Regions from separate parts of the Homo sapiens genome. Here region 1 is linked to region 2. Evidence: promoter capture Hi-C in 16 types of primary human blood cells and fetal thymus (Javierre and others, 2016). All regions are on one chromosome and are shown on one strand. Each heading gives the region's core, a stretch centred on a gene start or on the middle of the fragment in contact. The rest is flanking DNA. Distances are from core to core; before and after follow the strand shown. Region 1 holds the start of GAB1 (GRB2 associated binding protein 1). Region 2 holds the start of MGST2 (microsomal glutathione S-transferase 2).

Region 1 (4,832 bases), core at 733-3,232, 3.7 Mb before region 2:
TCACTTTCACGTTCAGCAAATATGTTATTCTTTAATTCCTCCAAGAATCTGTTTTTCCTAAATTGGGCCTTCTCAAAACAAATATATTTATCTCCCTACCCCTTTCTCCCTTCCTTCTCTGTCACATACACACACACACACACACCCCTACCTTTCTCTTTAGAACAGCTGGAAAAAAAAACACTGCCTCGTTCATATTTTTGGAATAAAGTTAGCATTTTTACTAGGATATTCAGGAAAACTGATAGATGGACAGGATTTGGAGGCATTACACATCTCTGGAGAGCTTTCTTATGATTTGTGGCATCGAGTCTTTCAATAAAATTACTTGTCTATAATAAATTCTGGCAGAAAGTAAATCAGAAATTCACTGGTGAGTTGTCAGTGAAGTTAAATACTTCACTCTGTGTACTTCACTCTGTTCTATACAAGCAAACAGTGACTAACAGGATTAACCTGAGCTCTAATACTGGGTGTAGATATTCCTCAACGACAAACGGGTTCCCTTCGTACAGGCATTAAATTTATATTATATTTAAGGGGGCATAAATTTTGCTTTTGCAAACACATTTTACTAGAAAAATATTTGATCCAGATGTCAGCACAAAAGTGTCATTTCTTTCCTTTGCAAGGGAGCAGCAACAAAACAACCAATGGGGAGGAAGAATAAGATCCCAGACCTCTGAAGAGGACACAGGTTTCCACTAAAGCAAGGTTGATACTTTCAAGGAATATTTTTCCTAACAGCTAAAACGGTTTAACACATAGCATCTTGTATCAATTACACAAACACCATTAAAGCCACTCTGGTTCCCTGGGAAAGGACCGCAACTGAAATCCCTTCTGGCTTCAGCTGTCCCCTCCTGCCGAGTTTGACAGCACATCCAAGGCGCCCAAACACCAGCCACTAGGCTCCCCCCCAGCGCCCTCCTCTCGCAGCAAACCGCCAAGGCTCCCGGGCCAAACTCCAAAGTCCCTCAATTCAAAACCGCGAAAATGTGAACCCTGCTAAGCAAACGGCAGGGCGCGTAATAACTTTTCTTTCTTTCCCTTTTGCGCGCGTTCGATATGCTTGTCTCTACTACCAACTCCTCAGCTCCACAGCCCGCTTCCCGCAACCCATCTCGAGGGGCGGAGGAGAGGGAGCGCCCACCAAAGAAAGGGCTAGTGAGCCCTAAAACCTCGGCAGTTTTCCCGGTGCGGGAGCTTTAGCACACATCAGCCCAATAATCAGATGCAGGAATAAAGCAGGAAGAAGGCTCCTCTCTCCATCGCACCCCATCCTTCCTAAGGAAGAAAAAAAGCATGCAGCAGGAGTTTAGCTGGACGTCTAGGTCCTTTTATGGGGCGAACAGGCCCGCAAAGCAGGCTGTCTGGAACCTGGAGGAAGAAAGTTGTCCGGCCAAGTGGATGCCTGGGCGTGAGGGAGTGCAAGGCACCCTGTCCCGAGCCCGCCAGGGGTAGGGGCCAAGGGGAAAGAGACCGGCATTCGTTTAAGAACCAGCCCCGCGCGCGGCCAGCTGCAGCCGCCGGCGAGCCGACTGGGGAGGGGTGTGGACGCCGAGGCCCGCGGAGTGGTGCCCGCAGCTCTACTTACATAACGCTTCAACTTTTTCTCCGGGGGGGACTTGCGGAGCCATCCGGAGCAGACCACTTCACCACCGCTCATGGTGCGCGCGTCTCGGGCTCCGGGCCGGGCAGCTGAGGGGCGGCGGGCGCGCTCCCGACACAGCCGACGCCTGCCGAGCGCGCAGTGGCGAGAACCTAGCTCTCCTGGTCGCGCACCCCGGACGGACTGGGCGGACAGACTCCACGGTGCGCGGGTTCCACGAGTTCGAGTCTCTCCTCTGCAGGCCCACGAACCTGAACAGAACGCGAGCCGGGGCCGCGGGCGCGCCGGCCTCCTTTCAGTGCGCCCGCCTCGCCTCCAGACGTGCCGTCTCGCCAGCTGCCTCAGCAGCGCTCGGACTCAGCGGGACTCTGCCCCGACTCGGTGCCGGAGCTTCTGTCCTTTGCGCTCCGCCCCCTAGGGACAAGACCTCCCCAGAGCGCTTTCCGAAACAGACACAGCGCTGCTCACACACACACACACACACACACACACACACAATGCCCCGCGCGGTGCCCGCTCGCCCGCCCACCCGCCCTCGGTTTCGATGCGCCCGGAGCGATCCTCCTTCCCTCTCCTCGGGGGAGGGTGGGTCACTTCGCGGCGCTCGGTGAACGCCGAGGAAAGGGGAAGCCGCGAGCCGCCTACGGGCAGCGGGCGCGGGGCTGGTCCCGGGTCACAGAGGGAGCCGCAGGGTTGGCAGCGAAGCGCGGGGCGTTTCTGAGCGGCGGGCGCAGGGAGGTCGCAGGTCAAGCCGGAGGGTGGGTCCGCTCTCGCGGCCGCCGAAGAGGGCGGGGAGCAGCAGAGGAACGAGGCGCTTGGCGGCTTGGCTCCTGGGAGGGATCCCGCTGTCCCGTCCCCTCGCGCTCCTCCCCCGCCGCCTCCCCCACCCCGGGGCTCGCGGCAGGTCCTGAGCGGCTCGGCCCCAGATCCCGATCCCTCCCTCCCTCTCCCGGCCGCCGGGCTCCTTCTTCCTCCCTCTCCTCCTCCCCTTCCCACGTTCAGGCCCGGCTCCGGTTTCTGCCCAGACTTTCTCTGAAACTCCGCCGGAGTGCTTCCAGCCAAAACAACAAGGGCCGGGGGAGGAGACGGACGAAGGGAGGGAGCAAGGGAGGGAGGGAGCGCGAGTCCGAGAGGCACCCTGGGATCTGTAGTTCGGGAAGCAGGAGCAGGGTCCTCCGCCGTCCGGCGGCCCCCAATCGGCTCCTCGCCCGGGAAGACCGCAGAGGCCTCGGCTAGGGCAGAGGCACCGGGGCTTGGGCGCGGGGAAGACTGAGGGACATTCGAATGTTCAGTCCGGGGCTTGCCATCTTGACTCAGCCCGGTGCCAGCTCGGAGCTTGTGCTGTGCTCGAGATCAGGAGTTTCGAGGGTTTTCTTTACTTGAGAGCCTGAAAGGCAAAACCGCGGGGAGACCACCATCCTGCCGGTCCCCGCCGCGCGAGATTAAAGGACAGACCAAGAGGGCGCGGGAGCTACCAGCTTGGAGGGGAGGACAGATGGGGACCCAGGGCTGGCCAGGGCTGGTCTCTGGAGCTGTTCTGCCAGAGTGATGGGGGCGCTTGGCGAGGCCAAGGATTTGGTTGGGTCCTATCTCTGAGACATTTTGAAGTCTCACACCCCTTCCATTTGTTGCCTATTCCACTTAACTTTGTATTTGTTTGAAATCTACTGTTCGGATGCTGGACTAGAAGAGGGACACTTGGCCGGGCGCGGTGGCTCACGCCTGTAATCCCAGCACTTTGGGAGGCCGAGGCGGGCGGATCAACTGAGGTCGGGAGTTCAAGACCAGCCTGACCAACATGGAGAAACCCAATCTCTACTAAAAATACAAAAATTAGCCGGGCGTAGTGGCGCGCGCCTATAATCCCAGCTACTCGGGAGGCTGAGACAGGAAAATAGCTTGAACCCGGGAGGCGGAGATTGCGGTGAGCCGAGATCGCGACACTGCGCTCCAGCCTGGGCAACAAGAGCAAAACTCCGTCAAAAAAAAAAAAAAAAAAAAAGAGAGAGAGAGAGAAAGAAGGAAGGAAGGAAATTTACTGGGTACCCTAGTTCTATTTGCCTACTTCCTTGTGTGTTTCACAATTATTATACTGGTCCTGAGTTTAACATGATTCTGTAATAAACATCTTCTCCAATTTATTTGTGAAAAAGCCCCAAAGCCAATTTCAGCAGATAATATAATCAGATAAAAGTGCTAAAAATATGACGACATAAATGAGCATTTCTGGAAAGACATAACTTCAGTCATTTTCTTATTAACACAACATTCATATTCTGAAGCTCCTCTGAGTTTGAAAATGTTAGATGATTGTAATAAGAAATTAGGTGCTGGAGTGGTGACAAGACAAAGATCCCTGCATATATGGAGGTAGTGGCATAGGGTAGTAAGCAAATAAAGAGTCAACAAAACTACAGATTGAGACTCAGTCTCAAAAAAGAAAAATCTGAAAAAGCCTGGTTCCCACTGGGGTTTAGAGACCGTCATCTTTTGGCAGGCACTTAACAGTATCACAAGGGCGGAACTTCTTGCAGATCTGGATGCACTTTTCAGGTCATCAACTGAGTAGTCGTGACCTTGGGTAAATTACACAATGTCTCTGAGTCTCAGTTTCCCGATATGTGAAATGGGAATTGCAACACCGATTTTGCAGAAGTTTAATGAGAAATAGAAATGGTAGTGTTGGCCAGGTGCGGTGGCTCACGCCTGTAATCCTAGCACTTTGGGAGGCCTAGGTGGGTGGATTGCCTGAGCTCAGGAGTTTGAGACCAGACTGGGCAACTCAGTGAAAACCCGTCTCTACTAAAATACAAAAAATTAGCCGTGGCGGCGTGCGCCTGTAGTCCCAGCTACTCGGGAGGCTGAGGCAGGAGAATCGCTTGACCCGGGAGGCGGAGGTTGCAGCGAGCCGAGATCGCGCTACTGCACTTCAGCTTGGGCGACAAAGCGAGATTGTGTCTCTAAAAAAAAAAAAAGAAAAGAAAAGAAAAGAAAAGAAAAGAAAAGAAAAGAAAAGAAAAGAAATGGTAGTGTTGGTCGGTTAGTCGGGCGCGATGGCTCGCGCTTGTATTCCCAGCACTGTGGGAGGTCTAGGTGAGCAGGTCACTTGAGGCCAGGAGTTTGAGACCACCCTGGCCAACGTGGTGAAACCCAGTCTCTACTAAAAACACAAAAATTAGCCGGGTGTGGTGGCACGCGCCTGTAGTCCCAGCTACTCGGG
Region 2 (4,354 bases), core at 442-2,941:
TCCCCACCCCTACCCCCACTCCATCCAGCCCCCTAACATTCTGGCCCCAGTTCACACAGCCCCCTGCACAAGCAGCAAACAGGGAGGATGAGCACCTCTGTCAGCTTTGGGACATCTGTGGACCTGCAGGCCTAGGATAAAGGCGCATGCAGGTTTGGTAGCACCTGTGAGTCAGGATGCTACCAACAGTGAGCCTTAGACCTGCTAAATTAGGTTTAGCCTAAAGCTGCCTTCTGACATATTTTAAGTTCAGCCTAAAGGTTTCTCCGTACATCGTGAACTATATGCTTCCGTTTTCTGGGAGTCGCTTTCCTTTTTCTGTCCATAAATCTTCTTCTACCACGTGGCAGCCCCAGAGTCTCTCTGAACCTATTCCGGTTCCCCATGCCCAACTGTGAATCGTTCTTTGCTCAATTAAACTCAGTTAAATGTAATTTGTCTAGGGTTTTCCTTTTAACAGATCTAAGTGCTTCTTTAATTAGAAACAAATATCCTGCTCTTCTCCACAACAGATTGTGTGAATCAAACCACAAAACGTGAGTCTGAAGGTTCAAGATCTTCATACAATCTCAAAACAGACTGGCTAGGCAAGACATTGAGCATGCACGGAGGCCTGGACTGGATCCTCAGCTGTGAGGCCTTCCTGCTTCTGGCTGTTTGTGTAACCTGAGCAGTCTACGGCTTGGCCCTATTTCCTGGTACAGGCATACTTGGAAATATAAAGAAATATGCATGCTTGGTAAGAAGTCTTGCACTCTTGCACTCGGACCCCTTTCCCCAGCTGACATTGTAGGTAAGATAATATGAATTGAGCAAATGTGACTCCCATGGAGTAAAAGCCCTCTATTTAACCAGGCAGTCGAGATATTGAATAATCCTAGTGGGAAGCTGTTTTAAAATTTAGAGCTAATTACTTAATCTAAAGCTAATATTTCTGAAGGAAGTTTTTTTCAATCTGATAATCATACCACCATAGGCAGTTTATTTAAGAAAACACATTAATTAAAACATCAACGTTCAAGAAATCACAACCAGGTTTAGAAGCAGGCACGTTTCCTTTGGAACACTTGTAATTAATATTCACACCACTTCCTGCAGGTTAGCAGGCTACTAACGCTCGTTTGAACGGGCTGTGGGTCGTAATCACAGATGATGCAGAATCGCTGAGCTCTGAGGCCCCACAGCGTTCCAGTTGGGAGAACTAATCTCTGGAATGTTCTCAGTCTCTGCTTGCCCCTGGGAAGGAGGGTAGCAGGCGGCATGGGTGACCCTGAGGCGACTGTGCTCTGAGGACCCAGAGCTACCTGCAAGGGCAAGTAGGAAACAAAACACCGGACCCATCTCCCTCCCTCCCTCTCTCTCCCGCAAGCCTTGTCACACACACACACACACGCACACACGCGCACACACACGAACTTCCCATGCCTCTTACTTTGCTGACAGGCCGAGAGAATAGAGACAGCAGCCAGCAGGATCGAGTTCCCGGCCATCTTTCTCACGGAACTATTTGTAGAGCGCACGGGAAGATAAATGGCGCTTCTTGACTTTGAATGCTGACCTTCCTTATCGGGTAAACAAAGTTGGGGACCGGGTGGGGGGAAAAGGCTGATTCAAGCGGCTGAATGACCTTTGCTCTGGAACAGAAGTCAGGAAGGCAGGCAGGTCTGGGGCTGCCGGTCACAGATCTTTATGGGGCTGGGAGTTGCTTCCGGCGTTTGTTTTAAGCCTCTCCCACGGCCAGCGGGCAGGGCTGTAGCTCACTGTGGGACCAGCCCTCCAGCCGCAGTGCCAGTTACACTATCTTCTCTGCCAATGCACAGACTCTCTGGATCCCTTTCATCCCCACGCCCTTCCCTCCTAGGGCCTTGCTGAGACCTTTCTCACCTCCTGTGGAAAAAGTGAGAAGGAACTACTTACTTAATCCTGTTGACATTTTAAATGCTAATTTAAGCCAGTTCTAATGTATTCACGCTCTGAATGGCCGATTTAGGATTTGAACCCAGTCTAGCAGATTACAACTGTGCCCTATCCCCTGCACCAGGCTGCCTCTCACTGTCACCTAGAGACTCTGATAATAATCATACTTTTTTTTTTTAAGACAGGGTCTTGATCTGTCACCCAGGCTGGAGTGTGTGGTGGCACGATCATAGCTCACTGCAGCCTCCAACTCTTGGGCTTAAGTAATCCTCCTGCCTCAGCCTCCCAAGTAGCTAGAACTACAGCCACAAGTCACTGTGCCCAGCCATTTTTAAAAAAATAAACCGGCCGGGCGCGATGGCTCACACTTGTAATCCCAGCACTTTAAGAGGCCAAGGAGGGTGAATCACGAGGTCAGGAGATCAAGACTATCCTGGCTAACACAGTAAAACCCCTTCTCTACTAAAAATACAAAAAATCAGCTGGGCATGGTGGCACGAACCTGTAGTCCCAGCTACGCAGGAGGCTGAGGCAGGAGAATCTGCTCTTTAGAGATGCAGATTCTGGCCTGGAAGGATGGCTCATGCCTGTAATCCCAACAGTTTGGGAGGCTGAAATGGGCAGATGGTTTGAGCTCAGGAGTTCGAGACCAGCCTGGGTAACATGGCAAAACCCCATCTCTTAAAGAAATACAAAAATTAGCAGGGCATGGTGGCACGTGCCTGTAGTCCCAGCTACTTAGGGGGCTGAGGCAAGGGGATTGCTTGAACCCAGGAGCCTGAGACTGCAGTGAGCCAAGGTCGTTCCACTGCACTTCAGCCTGGGTGACAAAGTGAGACCCTGTCTCAAACAAATAATAAAAATAAAGATGCAGCTTCCCAAAAACCAGAGCTGGGGGCCTTTCCTCACCCCATCCTACAGCACCATTAGAGGGTATATCTTGGCTCAAGCTGCTATAACAAAGATACCATAGACTGGGTGGCTTACAATAGCAATTTATTCGTCACAGTCCTGAAGGCTGGGAAGTCCAAGATGACAGTGCTGGCCAATCAGTTCCTGGTGAGGGCCCTCTTCCTGGTTTGCAGAAGGACACCTTCATGTTGGAGACAGAGAAAGAGTAAGCTTCCTGGTCACTTCTTATAAGGGCACAGATCCCATTATGGGGGCCTATGCTCATAACCTCACCTGTAGCTAATTATCTGCCAAATGCCTGATAACATCACGTTGGGGGTTAGGGTCTCAACATATGAATTGCAGAGGGGACACAAACATTTAGTCCCTAGCAGGGAGCTCCCAGTGTCTTCTGGGGAGGGCAGTTGCCTCAGCCTCACACAGACCCTACAATTTAATAACACAACCTTGGGCCTCTCTGAGCCTCCATTTAATAAGATAGGGCTAATAAGAGCTGAAGAGAAGTTTAAATGACATAATCCTATTCTAAGGATTGAATTAGTTAATACTTATAGAGCACTTAAAACAGCACCTGGCATATACAAATGTGTTCTGTGTGTCTGCAAAATAAACACATAAAGTATCTAGACAAGTACTTAGCATATAATGTACCTAATGTTAAAAAATACTTTCAGAGGCAAAAATCATGCCTTTCATACAACATAAAATGAAAACATATCAAAATTTTTATGTAACTCATTCATGAGGGAACCAGTAAGATGTTATAACCAGTTCAAAGTAGAATTCATGGAACTACACATATACAGGAAAGAAGGAATAACAAAATTAATTTATAAATAGTTGCAAGCCAGGTCTGCTCAAAGTTTCTGTTGGTCTTCAGGCTTCCTTGGCTGTTTGCTCTTGAAATCATTGACAACTAAGATTAGATAAGAAAGTAGAGCCAAGAAGCTGGGGCAGCACCAAAACATTCTTGTATACTCAGTTTAATAGTTTTGGGCTTCAGTACATGGCAGAGATTCTAAACTGCAAACTAGCTGCCCTGAACCCATATCACCATCTACTATAATAACCTCCCAAATGACAGATCTCGAAGGAGAGGTCTACATTAGGCCTGGGGACAGGCAGAGGCTCTCAAAGTCAGAGAACGGCTCGGGAAGAGAGGAACAACAGCAGGAGGAGCTGAGCAGAGAATTGTGGCCCTGGCTGATGACTGTAACTTTTGGGTGTTGGTAACTCTTATTTTGAGAAACTCTTGGGTACACCTGTACTAGTCAACTGGTTTAAAATCTACAACTTCCGGCCGGGCGTGGTGGCTCACGCCTGTAATCCCACACTTTGGGAGGCCGAGGTGGGCGAATCACCCGAGGTTGGGAGTTCCAGACCATCCTGGCTAACACGGTGAAACCCCGTCTCTACTAAAAATACAAAAAAATTAGCCGGGCGTGTTGGCGGGCGCCTGTAGTCCCAGCTACTCGGGAGGCTGAGGCAGGAGAATGGCGTGAACCTCGAAAGCGGAGCTTGCAGT

Evidence for each region. Contacts are between HindIII fragments. The CHiCAGO score rates a contact against its expected background, and 5 or more counts as called.
Region 1: a contact is called between the fragment with the promoter of GAB1 here and the fragment with the promoter of MGST2 in region 2, in 1 of 17 cell types (monocytes). The highest score is 7.2, in monocytes.

What each region holds. Positions count from the first base shown.
Region 1 is chr4:143,334,026-143,338,857 of GRCh38, reverse strand. It overlaps GAB1 (GRB2 associated binding protein 1), which reads right to left and starts at 1,982. Exons shown (of 10, transcript NM_002039.4): 1 at 1,598-1,982. The coding sequence starts at 1,669. It also overlaps the pseudogene LOC124900789. RefSeq lists enhancers at 1,243-2,056, 2,966-3,175 and silencers at 2,086-2,135, 2,206-2,265, 2,366-2,665, 2,606-2,773. The HindIII fragment of the contact is 8,165 bases long and covers 1-4,832 here.
Region 2 is chr4:139,663,156-139,667,509 of GRCh38, reverse strand. MGST2 (microsomal glutathione S-transferase 2) reads right to left here and starts at 1,691. Exons shown (of 5, transcript NM_002413.5): 1 at 1,433-1,691. The coding sequence starts at 1,490. RefSeq lists enhancers at 1,467-1,636, 933-2,132. The HindIII fragment of the contact is 3,780 bases long and covers 1-3,041 here.